Regions from separate parts of the Homo sapiens genome. Here region 1 is linked to region 2. Evidence: promoter capture Hi-C in 16 types of primary human blood cells and fetal thymus (Javierre and others, 2016). All regions are on one chromosome and are shown on one strand. The core of a region is centred on a gene start or on the middle of the fragment in contact, and the rest is flanking DNA. Distances in the headings are between cores, read along the strand shown. Region 1 holds the start of CCSER2 (coiled-coil serine rich protein 2). Region 2 holds the start of BBIP1 (BBSome interacting protein 1).

What was found. The method cuts DNA at HindIII sites, captures the fragments that hold promoters and counts their contacts. A CHiCAGO score of 5 or more calls a contact.
Region 1: a contact is called between a fragment that was not itself captured here and the fragment with the promoter of BBIP1 in region 2, in 1 of 17 cell types (fetal thymus). The highest score is 7.0, in fetal thymus.

What each region holds. Positions count from the first base shown.
Region 1 is chr10:84,328,252-84,330,963 of GRCh38, forward strand. CCSER2 (coiled-coil serine rich protein 2) reads left to right here and starts at 338. Exons shown (of 10, transcript NM_001284240.2): 1 at 338-557. RefSeq lists a silencer at 102-831 and enhancers at 882-1,231, 2,279-2,358. The HindIII fragment of the contact is 298 bases long and covers 1,314-1,611 here.
Region 2 is chr10:110,917,899-110,920,598 of GRCh38, forward strand. It overlaps BBIP1 (BBSome interacting protein 1), which reads right to left and starts at 1,282. Exons shown (of 4, transcript NM_001195305.3): 1 at 1,223-1,282; 2 at 223-315. The coding sequence starts at 259. It overlaps SHOC2 (SHOC2 leucine rich repeat scaffold protein), which reads left to right and starts at 1,706. Exons shown (of 9, transcript NM_007373.4): 1 at 1,706-1,759. RefSeq lists silencers at 616-775, 1,626-2,065, 2,076-2,165 and enhancers at 907-1,446, 1,136-1,335, 1,356-1,405. The HindIII fragment of the contact is 2,602 bases long and covers 444-2,700 here.

The DNA of each region.
Region 1 (2,712 bases), core at 213-2,712, about 27 Mb before region 2:
TCCAGGAGGAGGAGCTGTCAGGTTTGACCGCACTCAAGCAGCAAATGTAGTCCAGGGGACGGCTAGAGGTGAGGTCAGCCGCAAGACTGGCGTCACTGCGTGGGCCCAGCAAAAACCTGAGTCAGGAGGCGGCCAGGCAAGGTCAGTGGAGGGGGCGGGGCCCGAAGCGGAGGCGGAGCTTGGGAAAGCCTGGCGTGAGGGCGGGGCGGGGCCAGAGGTGGGCTGAGGCCGGATCAGGCGGTGGGGGCGGTCCCCGTAGCCCCGTGAGGCTCGCGCCTGCGCACGGGCCCGCGGCGGGGCGGGACTGCGCGTGCGCGGTGCGCCGGCCCTGGAGGGCGGAGTCCGGGCGGGCGCCGGCCGAGGGAGGGGGCGCGGCGGCTTTGGAGTCCGGCGCTCCCTCAGGCCGCGGACGCGATGCTGGTTGCTGCGGCTCGGGCGGCGGGGCTGGCGGGGATGTGACGGGCGGCCCTTCGTCTCACCTTCCGTCCTCGGGCCCGCAGGTCGCAGGGCGGCCTGCAGCTGGGCCGCGGCCGAGGAGGCAGCGCGACCTCCGCACGGTGAGATCCGGGCTCAGGGCCAGAGCCGGGGCCGGGGTCGCGGCGGGCGCCGGGGGCAGCCCAAGACCAGGCACGCAGTCCGGGGCGGGGCGGAGGCCCGAACTCCCGGGCTGAGGCGGTGTCGCCCTCCCGTACCCGGCCTCCAGGGTGAGCCTCTCTAGCCCCTCGCGAGCCGCCGGACGCGGGGCGGGCGCGGACCCGGGAGGCCGGAGGGCGCCCTCCCTGCGGCTGTGACAGCGCGGGGCCTCGGGCCGCGGGCGCCGCCGCCTTTCAGGAGAAATCAGGGCGAGGCTGAGGCACTCTGATTTCGGAGCCTGGTTGCGTGTGAGGGTGGATAGGGAAAGTACCGGGGCTCCCCGAATGAGTTCGATTTTTTTTTTCTTTCAATTACTGGGCTAAATGAAAGACACACCCTAAAACACATCCTGAGGTGAAACTTTGGTGGGGCACACCGTTGCCGTAGGTTCAGATCTTCTCTCTTGTCTTTAGACATGTATTTTCATACATTTTTAAATAATGCACCTACTTTCTTGATAAAGTAAAAGGAGGAATGAAGGGACTCCTTTGTGGTGGTCCTTGGTGGCGAAGCTTGTTTCCATTTCAGTAATTGCATATTCATCTGTGTGGGCTCCCCGACCAATGAGGCTGGCTGCTCCCAGACAAGGCCTTAGCGGAGTGGAAATGACTGACGCAGGGACTCTGGTCTCAGATTAGAGTGTTGGTAGCTCACTCCTGTAAGAGAGAAATTGAGCTTTAAGCTTTTTAAAATAGCCATATGAAAAGCATTCCTTTTCTCCTGAGCATTAAAATATGACGGAACCTATTCATTTGGCCAGTTGTTTTTTTTAAAGCATCATCTTTTAGACTAGAGACTTTAGAGATGGCAGCTGCTCTTTAACCAAAAGGAACTTAAGATGCTCTCCTGCAAAAGATGGGTTCAAAACATGTCTTATCCGTCATCCATATGTGATAAAAATGTAAATATTCCTGAGTGTTTGCCTGAAATCAGTCTTCTTCCTCTTGGACTTTATTACTGTTTCTCTTAATTTATGAAAGCTTGTTACTGTTATTTTTTGTTTTCGTTTGTGTTCTAAACAACATTGGCTTCAAATAATCTTCAGGTTAAAAATGCACACTTTGTTGAACCCTTTAGCCATAATTCATACTGTCGTACTTCAGCATAAGCCATAGTTAAGAAAGCACTAGAAGCCATCCTGAAAGCAAGCCGAAAGTCTCTATTAAGAATTCTGTAAAAATTCTACCTTTCCACATTCAGACCTGCATTTTTTGTTGCTTTGACTCAACTCCTTTGACTATTTTGGAGGAAGGGACTTTGAATCCATATTTACAAGTCCTTCAGTGACTCTCCATAGTCTATATCGATAAAATTCAAAGTCCTTCATGATTAGCGGTATTTGTCTCCATTCTAGTGTCATCTTCTACCATTATGCCTGCCCTCTCTATATAAGACTGTTGCAGTTCTCTGAAGATGACATCTTCCTCTGTGGTTTTTCAGTGTTCTTTGTTGAGAATTCTCTACCTAGTAAACAACTTGCCCTTGAAGACCTTACGAAAGTAGCACTTCTGAGGCTTGTCTAGACATTTCATCCCTCTTGTCTTAACTGATTCGTACACTCTCCAGTTAGTATTTGTCAACTGGTAGTTAATGATTTGTTTATGTGTCTGTCTCCACCAGGTTTTGGGGTTTCTTTTGTGTTTTTTGAGACAGAGTCTTGCACTGTGGCCTGGGCTGGAGTGCAATGGCCTCATCTCGGCTCACTGCAACTTCTGCTTCCTGGGTTCATGCGATTCTCTTGCCTCAGCCTCCTGAGTAGCTGGAATTATAGGCACACACCACCACACCTGGCTAATTTTTTTTTAGTAGAGACGGGTTTCAGTATGTTGGCCAGACTGGTCTCAAACTCCTGACCTCGTGATCCGCCCACCTCGGCCTCCCAAAGTGCTGGGATTGTAGGCTGGTTAGGAATGAAACCCCAGTTATGTTAAAAAAAATCCATTTTATGATACAGGAATAAAAAGGGCATGACCAATAAAGATTGCTGCTTCATTGGTCCTACAACTTTATTTTGAGGCGCAAAGTCACGCAGGTAGAAAGGGATGGCGGGGATTACAGTCCAGGTCTTTTGACCATCTG
Region 2 (2,700 bases), core at 32-2,531:
CCTGCTGGGAAGAATCTGGAAACACATCTCCACGGGTAACAGAATCAGATACAGAATCACAAAAGGTGACTGCTACAACAGATTTCAGTAATTAACAGCAAAGAAACAAGAGTAGTTCATTTTGGCTGGCGTGTAAGTACTAAGGAAGCAGAAATTAAGTCGAGAAGGTAGGTTTGCATCTGTATTGTTGACTGGCTGGATATTAACCATTTTCAATTTTACCTGAAAGTTCTGGTCTTTTTGCTGCAGCTTTAAGCATCCAACCCGGTATTACCAAGATGACTTAGAGTTCTTGACTCAAGCATACAGAAGAAACTACAAGATAATGTATGATAACTTTGTAAAGGGCCATATAAAAGCAATACAGTATTTTCAAAAATCTTCAACACGTTGTTTAAGAAACTGTAGACCTGCAGGAATCCCACCACCAGAACCGCAGTCAAAGCTTACAAAGACTCAAAGGAGAGACGCGGAAAGGGGGGAAAAATCAGAATGGGAAGGCAGGTGGCAGGGGAAAAAGATTGAGGTCCTGCCCTGGTGGTAGGGGCTCATCTTTTCCTTTTATAGGTGAAGGTGGAAAATGATTTTCTGAAGTTCCCGAATTCTCCTCCCTCCAAAGGCCAAGGAGTGAAAGTACTTAATAGGAACTTGCGGAGGCGTGGTCAAGAGCTCCGTTTTGCCGGAGTTAGGAGCTCCGCCCCGAGGTCCCCGCCCATTCCCCGCTGGGGTCCTCCCGGCCGGGCTGCCTCTGGCTGGGTTAGGGCGGCCTGTAGAGCGGCCTCACCCCACAGGGAGCCTCACGGGGGCGGGCCGCCGCCAGGCCAGCCCGGAAAAAAACCGCCTTCCAACGGAAGCGGCCCTGAGCCCCGCTCGCCATTTCAGCGCTCTGTCCCACAGGGACCGTCCGGCCCGGGTCCGGCCCACTGGTTGGGGTCCACGGACTCACCTCACTTTGCAACTAAGGTCAAAAATAAGCATTCCCTGGGGCACGGGCGGCCAGGCTATTAACACCCTTCCGCCATGACCCAATTCGGAAGTGCCAAATGCAACTTCCGGGCAGGAGAGGGAATTTCGGAGCCCTAAACTGTTGTCCATCTCCGTAAGTGACCAGACGTCTCAGTAAAATAAGGGCCAGGAAACTGGACGTGTAATCCGGAGTATGAATTAACTTGTCTAACATGGGATGTGTGGTCACCCACGGTACCTCTTTGGGCTTACTTACAGATGCATCCCTTCCCAGACGGCTCAGCTGTTGCCCCGGGTAACGGTGAGACTGGCGAAGGAAAAAAATCTACGTCACCCTGGAAACAGGAAGCCAGGAATCTCCTTTTGCCATTATCAGTTATGGCCGCCTTAGCTTCAACAGTAACTTCCGATCGGGGAGTTGTCACTCTACCCTGCTGGAGGCTTACTCTGTAGCCCGGCTAGCCAGAGGCGCCCAGTGGGCGGGAGACGGCGTAGAGGAACTGAGGAAAGGACAAGGGCGGAGAGAGAGAAGCTGGCGGCACTGCCCGTCTCTGATTGGGCAGCTTCTCTTGCCCCGGTTCCGCCCATTTTTCTTGCCTAGCGAGTGACGGGCCCACGGCAGAGGGGTGGGGCGGGGAGGCTGGAGCGAGAGTAGTGGCGGGGCGGGCGGGGCGGGGCGAGTGGGGGAGGGGCGGGCGGGGGGCGGCGGTTGGGCAGCGTCGCTTCTTAGGAGGAGGAGGAAGAGGAGGAAGGAGGGCGAGCGAGGAGGATGGCGGAGTCGGGGCTCCTGACGGTAACTCGGGGCCGATGAGGCGGAGGGTGTCTGTTGGTCGGTTCTTCCTGCCTGCCTTCCTGTCCGTCGGGCAGTCGGGCTGGCTGTCGGTAGGGGGAGGCCCCGTGCGCCCTGACAGGCGCGAGCCGGCAGCGCCGGGGCGAGGCCCGAGGGGCCGGGGCCCTGGGAGGCGCCGCCGCCGCCGCTTTCCTGGTTGCTGTCTCCGGGAGTGCGGGGCCCTTGGAGCCGGCTCGCGTGGGAGCCTGCAGCCCGGCGCGGAGAGGAAGGCGGTCGGGTGTGACAGCGGCCGGGGCCGGGCCTGCGGCGGCGGCGGCGGGCGGCCCGGACAGCGCCTGGGCGACGGCGAGCCGGCGCGAGGGCGCGGGCCGGGGGCCCCCGGCGGACAGTCTCTCTCCTCTCGGCTCCCTGGGCCCCCGGGCCCAGTCCGCAGGGCGCCCCGAGTCGTGTAAATCGTTGGCGAGGGCCCGGGCGCAGCGGCGGTCATACAGGGTGGGGTCTCTTCTCGCCCCCTCCCTGGAGTCCACCTTGCTCTCCCGTTCTCCTCTCCCTAAAAACCCTTGAGTGAAGAGTGCTGGATCGGCTCTGGGTGTGTTGCCTAGCGAAGCGAGTTGTAGCCCTTCGAGACCGCCTCGTAGAACATGCCCGATGGCAACCTCTCCCCGTGATAGCACAGCTTTTAGGGAGAGAGGAAAAGTAGTCTCACTCTTCCCCGACTTCCCCAGGCTCATAACACAAGAGGCTTTGGGGCAAGACGATTTTTCCCCCAGCACCTCAATATCCATTGTTTTTGTACCATCCCCCTCCCCCCATGCCTAGGTGGAAGAGTAATGACTCCAAAGCATTAACTTGCCTTTCTCTTTATTTCTTTTCTTTCTTTTTCTTTTCTTCCTTCCTTTCTTTAAGCAGGCAGTTTGTGTTATTGTGGAATTATGGATTTACAA